Linked DNA regions of Homo sapiens: all the other regions are linked to region 2. The links are contacts of gene promoters, found by promoter capture Hi-C in human tissues and cell types (Jung and others, 2019). All regions are on one chromosome and are shown on one strand. The core of a region is centred on a gene start or on the middle of the fragment in contact, and the rest is flanking DNA. Distances in the headings are between cores, read along the strand shown.

Evidence for each region. The method cuts DNA at HindIII sites, captures the fragments that hold promoters and counts their contacts. A contact is called where the count stands out against the background at its distance.
Region 1: a contact is called between a fragment that was not itself captured here and the fragment with the promoter of UNC119B in region 2, in 2 of the 25 tissues and cell types used here (dorsolateral prefrontal cortex and thymus).
Region 3: a fragment that was not itself captured here is called in contact with the fragment with the promoter of UNC119B in region 2 in 1 of the 25 tissues and cell types used here (dorsolateral prefrontal cortex).

What each region holds. Positions count from the first base shown.
Region 1 is chr12:120,497,935-120,502,388 of GRCh38, forward strand. DYNLL1 (dynein light chain LC8-type 1) reads left to right here. Exons shown (of 3, transcript NM_003746.3): 3 at 139-559. The coding sequence ends at 276. Among named protein-coding and RNA genes, the nearest start is that of DYNLL1, 4.0 kb to the left of the region's middle. The HindIII fragment of the contact is 3,028 bases long and covers 1-2,843 here.
Region 2 is chr12:120,708,700-120,712,822 of GRCh38, forward strand. UNC119B (unc-119 lipid binding chaperone B) reads left to right here and starts at 1,759. Exons shown (of 5, transcript NM_001080533.3): 1 at 1,759-2,019. The coding sequence starts at 1,776. LOC124903036 (a long non-coding RNA gene) reads right to left here and starts at 1,807. Exons shown (of 2, transcript XR_007063491.1): 1 at 1,738-1,807; 2 at 1,234-1,575. RefSeq lists silencers at 1,649-1,708, 1,799-2,068 and an enhancer at 1,676-2,518. The HindIII fragment of the contact is 6,851 bases long and covers 1-3,018 here.
Region 3 is chr12:120,472,691-120,476,534 of GRCh38, forward strand. It overlaps a transcript of DYNLL1 not described here. Among named protein-coding and RNA genes, the nearest start is that of SRSF9, 4.9 kb to the left of the region's middle. The HindIII fragment of the contact is 6,330 bases long and covers 1-3,844 here.

The sequences.
Region 1 (4,454 bases), core at 80-2,579, 210 kb before region 2:
GGGGAACATTCTTTCATTCTAAGAATTTGCAGATGCTGACGTTCCTCCTTTCTGCCCCTACAGGCTCTGGCTTATCCAAGAGGCAAACACTGACCTCTGGTAATTAAAATCCTAGTTCTTTTCTTTTGTCTTTTCCAGGAATTTGACAAGAAGTACAATCCCACCTGGCATTGCATCGTGGGGAGGAACTTCGGTAGTTATGTGACACATGAAACCAAACACTTCATCTACTTCTACCTGGGCCAAGTGGCCATTCTTCTGTTCAAATCTGGTTAAAAGCATGGACTGTGCCACACACCCAGTGATCCATCCAAAAACAAGGACTGCAGCCTAAATTCCAAATACCAGAGACTGAAATTTTCAGCCTTGCTAAGGGAACATCTCGATGTTTGAACCTTTGTTGTGTTTTGTACAGGGCATTCTCTGTACTAGTTTGTCGTGGTTATAAAACAATTAGCAGAATAGCCTACATTTGTATTTATTTTCTATTCCATACTTCTGCCCACGTTGTTTTCTCTCAAAATCCATTCCTTTAAAAAATAAATCTGATGCAGATGTGTATGTGTGTGAATTACAATTTGTTCAAATAACAGCGTTGAAGACGGTCACTTGATCAGATGCCCAGGTTGGTGGGGATGAGTCCATCCTTACAGAAGTTAAGTTTCTGTGGGGTATTTCAGTACTCTTTAGTCACATTCTCTCACCCATCCTGCAACTGTTGTGCATGTTGAGAAATGCAGTGCATGATAAAGAAACATTTAAATTAAATCTTTAGTCCTAATCTGAAAAAAATCAATGTTTAAGGATATTTGTTAAGACATTGCTATAGAATGTTCTGGGCCTTTGGCCTCAGGTTGTGGTGATGGATGTGTATGTAGTAGTACTTGAAGCTTTCTATGGCTATAAAATGGAAATAAGCTCAAAACAAAGTTGGGATAATGAAATGGATTCCAGGACCCTTGTCTAGCCCCCTCCCCTGCCTAGAAAGAAGGTGGCCTTAGGGGAAAGTAAATGTTTCTGAGCAGCAGTTTTCATGCTCTTCTAATAATGTAAATTCCTGCAAAGACTTTATCAGCCTGCTGTGCTGTGCTTTGCTGTGGTCAGGAACAAGTGTGAATTGATACCTTTTCCTGAAAAGACCCAATTAAAGCTGGGGACAAGTAGCTATCAGAGGTTTCCTGCTATCAATTTTAAGAGGACTGCAGTCGTAGAAAAGCAAATATGGCAGACTTGTAGGTGGAAAGGAAATAAGACAGGCTGGAACAACCCACACCCATCTTGGGAAACTGCAAGAAGGGTCCTGACTTGTAGTTAGCCTATGTTTTCCCATGGATCTCTAAGATGCCATTGGGATTTCTAAGCAGCTAGGTGACTGCTACACAGAAGAGGGCGATAGATTGGAATTGATGGGTGATAACTCCCATTGTAAGAGTAGAATTAGGTCAGTAACATATTTGGAAGTTTATTTTTCTTCAGAATGTGTGGTTTTAAGAATCCTAGCAAAGTTGTGCTACTTTAGGATTGGAAGGGTTTCAGGGTAGAGGTGCAAGATTTTGACTTTTTTAAGACAGAGTTTCGCTCTTGTTGCCCAAGCTGGAGTGCAATGGCGTGATCTCAGCTCACTGCAACCTCTGCCTCCTGGGTTCAAGCAAGTCTCCTGCCTCAGCTTCCCAAGTAGCTGGGATTACAGGCATGTGCCACCATGCCCGGCTAATTTTGTATTCTTAGTAGAGATGGGGTTTCACCATATTGGTCAGGCTAGTCTCGAACTCCTGACCTCAGGTAATCTGCCCACTTCTGCCTCCCAAAGTGCTGGGATTACAGGCGTGAGCCACCAAACCTGGCAATTTTGACTATTGTGCCAGTTTTTTCCCTGCTGTCTGCAAAAAAGGATGAGGTACTGTGGAATAAACAGGAGACTGCAACTGGGGTAATTTTATGTTTGTATTTATATAAACAGACCGAAAATGTTCCTTTTTTCTAACTTTCATTTTTTTTGAGACTCCTATTGCCCAGGCTGGAGTGCAGTGGTGTGATCATAGCCCACTGCAACTTCAACCTCCTGGGCCCAAGTGATCCTGCCACCTCAGCCTCCAAAGTAACTGGGACCATAAGTACATGCCACCATGCCTAGCTAACTTTTGAATTTTTTGTAGAGCTGGAGTCTCCCTGTGTTGCCCAGGCTGGTCTTGAATTCCTGGGCTCAAGCAATCCTCCCAAGGTGTTGGGATTACAGGTACGAGCCACCACACCCGGTTTAATTCATATTTTTTCTTTTTTTTTTTTTTTTGAGACGGAGTCTCACTGTCGCCCAGGCTGGAGTACAGTGGCGCGATCTCGGCTCACTGAAAGCTCCGCCTCCCAGGTTCACACCATTCTCCTTCCTCAGCCTCCCGAGTAGCTGGGACTACAGGCACCCACCACCACGCAAGGCTAATTTTTTTTGTACTTTTAGTAGAGACGGTTTCACCATGTTAGCCAGGATGGTCTCGATCTCCTGACCTCGTGATCTGCCCACCTCGGCCTCCCAAAGTGCTGGGATTACAGGTGTGAGCCACCGAACCTGGCCTAACTCATATTTTTTCTATCCCTTTTCCCTCTTTAGTGACCTGGCTATATTTCTATTTGAAGCCCACAGGGAATTTGGCCTCCAAAGCTTTAGTTTGTCCAGTTAAGCCCTACTCAGAACGGATGATCTGTCTCTAGCTACAGACCCAAAAGCTGATTCAAGACTGATAGCTAGACACTGGGAGTTTTAGTTGAATATGATCTGTCCCATATTTACTGTCAAGTTGGCAGCTTTTTTGTTTTTTTATTCAGATGTGAGAAAACCATGTTGCTATGGAGATAAGACTGGGTTGATGGTTTATGAAGCTCCTTCCAGTGCCTGTTCCTTCCTGTTAATTTCAAAAGCCAATAGGCTCCAGCTGGCTGAAAAGAAAATGTAAGCTAAGTTTTTCTAAGCATTTATCAAATGCTCTTAGCTGCTGTTCTTTGAGAGAGTTGTATATAGCTAGCTCTATCTAGAAGCTTTTTAGTGACAGGGCAAGATCTTGTAAGTGAAGGCACGTAAATGATCCTTACTGTGCTGGGTCAGGAAGCAGCGTATCTGAAGCCCTTTCACATACCTTTGAACTATGTTATCCACAAACTGTTAGCCAAGTCACAGACTGATTTCTGCAATTCATTTTTGAGACAGGGTCTCACTCTGTCACCAAAGCTAGAGTGCAGTGGTGTGATCTCGACTCACTGCAACCTCCGCCTCCCGGGCTCAGATGATCCTCCCACCTCAGCCTTCCAAATATCTGGGACCACAGGTGTGTACCACCACATCTGGCTAATTTTTTATTTTTTGTAGAGATGGGATTTTGCCATGTTGCCCAGGCTGGTCTCGAACTCCTGGATTCAAGCAATCTGCCCTCTTTGGCCTCCCAAAGTGCTCGGATTACAGGCATAGGCCACTGTGCCGGACCAATTTCTGCAGTTTCTTAGCAAGGCCTCTTTAAAACCTTATGATTCATCCACACTCAAAATATTTATGGCTGGGTGCAGTGCCTCATGTCCCAGCACTTTGGGAGGCCAAGGTGGGAGCCCACGAGTACGAGAGCAGCCTGGGCAACACAGGGAGACCCTGTCTCTAGTAAGAAAAAAAAAATTATGGCAGCCAGGTATGGTGGCTCACACCTGTAATCCCAACACATTGGGAGGCTTGAGGTGGGCAGATCACCTGATGTCAGGATATCGAGACCAGCCTGGCCAACATGGTGAAACCTTGTTTCTACTACAAATACAAAAATTAGCTGGGCATGGTGGTAGGTACCTGTAATCCCAGCTACTTGGAAGGCTGAGGCAGGAGAATTGCTTGAACCTGGGAGGCGGAGGTTGCAGTGAGCCAAGACCACACCACTGCACTCCAGCCTAGGTGACAGAGGGAGACTCGGTCTCCAAAAAAAAAAAAAATTACAAATTAAAAAATTAACCAGGCACTATGGCGTATGCCTGTAGACCCAGCTATTTAAGAGGCTGAGGTGGGAGGGCTGCTTGAGCCCAGGAGTTTAGGCTGTAGTGGGCTATGATCAGGTCACTGCACTCCAGCTTGAGTGACAGAGCGAGACCCTGTCTCTTAAAAAAATTTATGGCCTCATTTTAACATCAAACAGTGGACTGTATTCAGGGAGAAGTTTAGAAAATGACAAGGCCAGGCGCGGTGGCTCACGCCTGTAATCCCAGCACTTTGGGAGGCCGAGGCGGGCGGATCACGAGGTCAGGAGATCGAGACCATGGTGAAACCCCGTCTCTACTAAAAATACAAAAAAATTAGCTGGGCGCAGTGGCGGGCGCCTGTAGTCCCAGCTACTTGGGAGGCTGAGGCAGGAGAATGGCGTGAACCCGGGAGGCGGAGCTTGCAGTGAGCTGAAATCGCGCCACTGAATTCCAGCCTGGGTGACAGAGCG
Region 2 (4,123 bases), core at 509-3,008:
GGGTCAGGTTTGGACTTTGTCCAGGAACCAAGAGATGCCTGTCTTGGTGGCTTTGGTGAGAGGGACTCAGCAAGCAAGGCCTGGCAAGAACGTCAAGAGGCTCTGGGGGACGGTTGCAATTTTACTCTAGCCTGGCTGAGAGGTGATGTCAGACCTAGCAGACACACTGCATCAATCAGGCCCAGGCCTCCAACACAGAACAGTGCAGATCTAGAATCCCTAGAGAAGGAGCCCCTCAGGGTGGAAGACGGTAGACCACATCCCCCTGTTGACCCACTTCTGGCTAATTGGTGAGGTCATGGCTAACTTCCAAAGCTCAGTGCAGATATTGCCTCTGAAAACTTCCGAAGCCCTCAAGCTTTTACAGCCAGGTCAGAATAAACCACTCCTGTGTGTTCTCCTAGCACCTTTGCTGCATCTCTTAGTGCAGTCAGTGAATCTAGTTTGTCTTCCAGTTCATACTAACCTACCTTGTGAAAAGGAAGGGTCACATAATGAATTGTGTACTTTACAGTCTTCTCTAACAAAAGTGGGAGCTCTTCCATAGTGGGATACTGTTCAGGCTCTCATTCAATCATTACTGAGCACCTACCACGTGTCAGGCATTAGCTGAACTGCTGGGAATTCAGGGGTGAGGCAGACCCAATCCCTGCCCTCACTCTTACATCTCCTGTAGCCTAGCCCAATGTCTAGCCCAGGGCCTGGCACAGTAGGGCTTACGGATGGCAATCTCATTGGAAAGTTTGTCTTGAAACTGCCTTTGCAAAACAAACACTGCTTTAACTTACCTTCTATGCTAAATATATTAATAAACATTTTCTCAAGATGCATTGTCCACTAATAGCTTAGTGTTGAAGAACAGGCCTTGGGTCAGATGGACCTGGATTAAAATCCCTGTTCCCTCCTCTTACTGCTTGAGGGACTTTGGACATGTTACCTGACTTCTCTGAACTTGAGCTTCCTGATCTGTAAAATGGAGACAGTAATACCTCACAGGGTTGTTGTGAGGTGAGGAGCCTGCCCTATAGCAAGTGTCCTGCCATATAGCAAGTGCGCAGTAAACACTGGCCATTCTTCTTCTTGGTGTGATTACTGGGAATTAGTTGCCATTGTGCTGTTGGGACTGGTGACAGAACTCTTGGATTGAGAATGCCGAGATGGTGCACGGAAGATTCTGTGTGCTCTTTCAGACCAGGAGGAGGATGAGGAGGAGGAAAGTTTATATGACGTAAATTCATTTGACCGTAAGATATGTATTTAAACATCGTGGAGGATCTTGGGGGTCTGATGGGGAGTGGGGTTGCTGAAGCTCCAGCCACCCCTAGGCCCTCCACCTGGCAGGACCAAAGTTGGGGCAGTAGCCGAAGCACCGCCCCCCGGGCCCCGCAGGAGTGTGCAGTCACCCAGTTAGGCCTATCTTGGCCTGCCCATCACTCCTGGCCTGCGGTCTCCTAACCCTGTGGCAGCAGCAGCATTCCCTGAATGGATCGAAGGCTGCCATGGTGTCGTCCGCTGAATTGCTATAGGAGTCAGCCCAGGGCTGCTCATGTGCACCTCAGGTTGCTGATGGCAGCTCTAGTTATTTGGGGATGGAAGTTTGGGGAGAGTGGGCCTTGGTCCACCCTGTGCGAAAGGGAATTCCACAGCCCCCCGGGCGCCCGCCCCCGCCCCCGCCCCGCCCCCTCCCCGCCCCTTCCCCGCCGGGCCCCGGGCCCCGCCCCCGCTCTCCATAGTTACCGCGCTGTGGAGGCGGCGGCCATCTTGGCGGCGGAGCGATGAGCGGGTCTAACCCGAAGGCTGCGGCCGCGGCGTCGGCGGCTGGGCCCGGGGGGCTGGTGGCTGGCAAGGAGGAGAAGAAGAAGGCGGGCGGCGGCGTCCTGAACCGCCTGAAGGCGCGGCGGCAGGCGCCCCACCACGCGGCCGACGACGGCGTCGGGGCAGCGGTCACGGAGCAGGAGCTGCTGGCGCTGGACACCATCCGGCCCGAGCACGTCCTGCGCCTCAGCCGGGTCACCGAGAGTGAGTGCCGCGCGGGCCGCGCCCTCCCCTCGCGCCGTGCCCCGGCTCCCGGAGCCTTCAGCGGACCCGGCCACTTGACCAGCGCGGGGGTCCCCGCCAGACCCCCTCGGCCGGCCGGGCCGCGCTTCCCGCTGCCCCGCCGGCCGGGCTTTGCTCCCGCCACGCTCACGTAGCTCTGGTGGGGAAGGACTCTCCTGGGCTGGACCGCATTCCTGTGAGTCCGGCCACGCTAGGATGCCCTTCGGCCGGTCGGCTCCCCAGCTCTGCCGGACCTGTTTGGGTAGAGGGCCCCGTTCAGCTGAACTGGATCCTCCTGAGCCGGCCGGGGGCCGAGGTCCCCTAATAAATGGGCCCCTGGGCCCTCAGCCTGGAACCCCCGGCCATCAGTGAAGTTCCCGCTCAGCCAGGCTCCCCCAGCCCTCTGGCAGGCCAGAAGCCTTACCTGCTTCCTCCGCCCTGGCCCCATGGCAGCCCTCCCCCATTGCAGCCTGCCCGGCCTCCCTCCCTCTTTGGGTCGGGAGCGTTGCCCCTTAGTGTGCAGATGGGTTCTTCCTCAAAACACATAGCCGTGGCATTTCCTGCTCATTTAAAACTGTGCCACATTAAAACAAAAATAAAGTTTCAGTTTGTGTACAGACTCCGACATGTGAATCCTGCTTTTGACATTCTCGTGAATTAAGAATGATTTCAGAGTTTCAGAAATGCGTTTCCTGCACAAAAGGCAACCATCCTAAGCTTTTTCGTTGATAGGAGGATGGGTGGGAAGAAAAATGTTGCCCAGTCCCTGCCCTGGGTGATCTCCCTTTTTCTGTTCTCTGCCAAGCCAGTCCCTGACTTGACGTCTTTTCTCTTGCTGCTGTTTTCCCTGCAGGAGTGTGCACTCACCTAGTTAGGCCTATCTTGGCCTGCCCATCACTCCTGGCGTGCAGTCTCCTAACCCTGTGGCAGCAGCAACATTCCCTGGATGGATCGAAGGCTGCCATGGTGTCTGCTGAGCTGCTATAGCAGGCAGCCCAGGGCTGTTCAGGTGCACCTCAGGTTGCCGATTGCAGCTCTAGTAATTTGGGGATGGAAATTTGGGGGGAGTAGGCCTTGGTCCACCCTGTGCGAAAGGGAATTCCCATTTCCTAAAAGAGTTTTAATTTGATTCTAGATATTTGGATGCCCCCGTTTCCCAATACTGTTTGGGTTGAGACTGTCCTTACCAGACCTGAACGTATCTTTAGACATTCTTGTTAGTTTTATTGAAACAGTGTGAAAAAGCTTCTTTTCTTCTGAACCAGTTTTCATTTGGGGCTCTGAAAGTACAGATGCTCAGCACCTGGTCTTGGTAACCTCATGCCCTCTCCTGCCATCCAAGTGAGTTAGGGTATTCTGTGCCTGGCCCTAAGCAGGATTCTCAGTGGGCACTCAGATCCTATCTGGGGGCTTGGGATTGTTGCTCATTGTCCAAACCCACCTCTGCAGCTTCTTAGAGTCTGGCAACCTCTTTGTTACTCTTCTTAACGTCTCGTTCATTCTATCCAGCAGATTATTTGAGTACCCTCTAAGAGTCCAAAGCCAATGTTAGCCTTTTTAGCAGTTACAGAATAATCAGTAGTTGTCAAGTTTGTCGTCTTAATAAAGAGACAACTTGTAAAACACGAAAACAACTAACTCAGGCAATAAAAGATCAAGTATCAAAATGAGCTGTGGAGAAGATGCTATCCGGAATCATCCTAGAAAGAAATCAGTGAAATTTGCTGTGATTAGAATTATTTCAATTTGCGGCTCATGTTCTAGTCACTTGGGCCTAATGTCTTCACCGGCAGATTTATCCTCTTGCCTGGATATGTATGATATGTATTGTCTACTGTATGATTTTGTGTAGCCCACAAACTAAGATTAGGTTTGTACATTTTTAAATGGTTGAAAAAAACTTTAAAATCTTGAGACACGTGGTTATGTAAAATTCATATTTCAGTGTCCATAAATACAGTTTTACTGGAATATAGCCACATTCATTCATTTGCGTATTGTCTGTGGATGCTTTTGTGGCTACAATGATAGAGTTGAGTAGTTGTGACAGAGACCATGTGGCGGCAAAGCCTAAATTATTTAGAAT
Region 3 (3,844 bases), core at 941-3,440, 240 kb before region 2:
GCAAATAATAATAATTCAGCTTTAATTGTGCAATGTCCTGCAGCATACAATCTCCAAAGGAGTTCAGTTACCCAGCAGAAAATGTAGGGATGTGGTTAGTACAGGCTTCTTGGATTAGATAGAGCACAGCTAAATCCTTAGGAGGCATTTATGATCATCCATGAAACCCCCTTTATTCCTGTACTGACCTTTGCAGTTAGAACACAAATGAGACCACAATTATGACTTCATGTTCAAAGGGTTCATAGGTTCCATTCTCTGCTAAGGCCAGAGACTCTAGGCAGGGACACCTTTTAAACTTTTTGTTCATCTAGATATTCAACATTATTTATGATTTAGGTCCTGTATGAGGCCCAGGGCATGCAATAATACAGCTCTGTCCTTGAGTTGTGTATATAGGTTGCTATTCGGTCATGTAGAGTACAGTTGTGATAAGGATAAGCTGCTTGAGACTACATCGGAGGGTCACCTACCACAGTCTTAGAGATTCTAAGGAAGGCTTCTGGGAGGAGATGTTTAGAGTCTTGAAGAACCAGTAGGAGTTAACCAGGGGGAAGAGGGAAGGGCATTTCAGACAAAAATGAGGGCATGACTGCTGAGTGCAGTGGCAGTAATCCCAGCACTTTGGGAGGCTGAGGCAGGAGGATGGCTTGAGTCCAGGAGTTTGAGACCAGGCTAGGCAATGTAGTGAGACCCCTATCTCTACAAAAAACTTAAAAATTGCCAGGCCCAGTGGCTCATGCCTGTAATCCCAGCACTTTGGGGAGGTCAAGGTGGGTGGATCACTTGAAGTCAGGAGTTCGAGACCAGCCTGGTCAACATGGCAAAACCTCATCTTTACTAAAAACACAAAAATTAGTCGGAGGTGGTGGCGCACACCTGTAATCCCAGCTACTTTGGAGGCTGAGGCAGGAGAATTGCTTGAACCCGGGAGGCAGAGGTTGCAGTGAGCCGAGATTGCGCCACTGAACTCCAGCCTGGTCAACACCGAGACTCTGTCTCAAAAAAAAAAAAAAAAAAAAATTAAAAAATTATCTAGGCATGGTAACGTGCACCTGTGGTCTCAGCTACTTGATCTCGAACTCTTGAGCTCAAGTGATCCGCCCATCTCGGCCTCCCAAAGTGCTGGGATTACAGGCATTAGCCACGGCACCTGACAGTCCCAGCTACTTAAGAGGCTGAGGTGGGAGGACTGCTTGAGCCTGGGAGGTTGAAGCTGTAGTTAGCCATGATTGCACCACTGCACTCCAGCCTGGGCAACAGAGTGAGACTCTGTCTCAAAACATAAAAAAGGACACCATGAGAAATCACCCAAATAGGAGAGAGAGTAGCAGACCAGGGAAAATCCCTACTGGTGTGACTGGGGCAAGGAGTTCAAGCAGGGAAGAAGAGAGAAGGAGCTGAGGCACCACCAGCCTGGGCAACATGTTAAAACCCCGTCTCTACAAAAAATACAAAAATTAGCTGGGCATGGTGGCACACACCCATAGTCCCAGCTACTTGGGAGGCTGAGGGGGGAGAATCACTTAAGCCCAGGAGGCAGAGGTTGCAGTGAGCCAATATTGCACCGCTGCACTCCAGCCTGGGCGACAGAGTGAGATCCTGTTACAGAAATGGGCTTGTCCTTCTTTTCACCAAACTGAAAAGAAGCCTTTGATGTTGGCAGACTATTAAGAATTAATGCAGTTCCCACAGCAAGCCATTTATTCTCCACCAGAGTGTAGGGCAGTGCCCAACTGAAAAAAACAACATAAAAAAAAAAAAAAATCCCAAAACCAACAACAGCTCGGGTGATGAGTGCATGAAAATCTCAGAAATCACCACTAAATAACTTAAAGAACTTATCCATATAACCAAACACCACCTGTTCCCCAAAAACCTATTGAAATAAAAATTTAAAACAAACAAAAAACCAACAACGCCAGGCATAAAACATGCTGCAAACCTGCCCATCTGGTTTTCTCCTTTTCTCTGTGACATCAGTCCCCTCTGGCATCCCAGCAAAATATTTTCCTCTCTGTCAGGCTCAGTCATGAGCTCCTCCCAGACCTTGGCCCTAGGTATCAGTGGGCAGAGAGGAAGTGATGGGGGAGTAGACCATCTGAGAAGATGAGGAACTGGTCCCGCCTGGCAGGAGAGCTATGGAATGAGTCACTGGGAAACGTGTTCCTGGTCACAGCACCCTGGGAGCTTTCTCTGTCATTCTCTACCACTGTACTTGTGTGATGGAGTAAAATAAAACATATTCTGGAAAGCTACATAATAAAGAACTGAGCCATGCAGGGGAGGAAGAAGAGAAACAGCAGCAGAACTAGGAGGTTTGGAAGAGAGTTTGGAATTGGGGGTGAGCTTTAGGAAAGCAAGTGTCAAGTGTGGGAGGATGAGAAGAGAAAAATGGGAAAGATAATTCAAGATTTGCAGTATATTGTGAATATAATTCCCCTCTGGTGTTTTTTTCAGAGACTGCAAAAAATCTTTAACATTATTTTTCAATAACTTTTAGATAATGAACTGGTGTTTTCTTTGAATATGCCCAAACAGGTGGGAACACAAGGGCTTGATTTTATATGAAGTTACTTCAAGTGAACATACTGTATTTGTAGCAGCTCGGTTGCTTTATTTTTACTAACTTGTTAAATTCTGTGATGGAGTCTTCAAACAGCTTTTTATATCAGGGCTTCCTTTTCTTGGATTAATGGGCTTCTGGGATCAGTGAACTCCTGCCTCCCTGCCCCCTCAACCTCCACCTCCTGACCCTGATCCTGCAAAGTTGTAACAGTTGTATGCAAAATATTGTATGTGGGCAGAAAAGTGTTTTTATTCTGGGGAGAATCTCCATGTAGCACTGTCCCACAGAACTTTCTAGGATGATGAAAACATTCTATATTTGAGTTCTATGTGGTAGCCATTGGTTACATGTAGCTATTGAGCACTTAAAATGTGGCTACTGCAACTGAGAAACCAACTTCTTAAATTATATTTAACAATAATTAACTTTAATTGTAATAGCCAAATGTGGCTAGTGGCTACCATACAGGACAGCGTAGGAATTTATCATTCTCAAAGGTCTATAAGCTGTACTCCCCCATTCCCCCAAAAAAGGCCAAGAAACACTGAGACCAATCACTTCCCTTTACAGCCCTATGGTACTGGCACATAGTAAGTGCTTAGTAAACACCTGTTGATTTTATTAACTAGTATATAAAGAACAGTTATTCTAGCTCCAGAAAAGTGGAACTGAGGTACAAAATGGCAAATGAGCTCATCAGGTTCACCAAATTTCATTTCCTAAGCTCTAAATTCCTTACCCTCAACCCAGAACTTTTTCCAAAACATTTTCCACTGTAACAAACCTTGAAAACTTTCTTCACAGCAGAGTAAATCAGAAACACAAGCAAAGGGTAGGGGGGTGTGAAAAGATTAATAACAGTACTAAGAATGTTTTTCAATGCAACAAAAAAGGATGCATTTATTTAGTAGAATCCTAATTTTTTTAGACCCAAGTCAGTTTTATACTAAGCAGATTTTTAATGAACTGCGTCAATATAATTCAGTAATGGCACCTCCAAGGCAAATACATTCCTTAAAGGTAAAAAACAAGTATGGGAATTATCTGGAGTTTTTTTTTTTTAAGTTAAAAAAAAATAATAATAACTGAAAGCCAGGAAGCTTCTAGGCTACACATCCCCCATGCTAACACATGCCCAGTGGCTGAACTTCCTTCTGTCTGCCTGAGGCTGGCTCTCCCCCTCAGCCAGCACATGTGCAGGGCTTCTGTGAATGTCACATTGACAGACATTCCTTGCTAGGCAGCTGGGGACCAGTTTCTTTTGTAATTCCATCC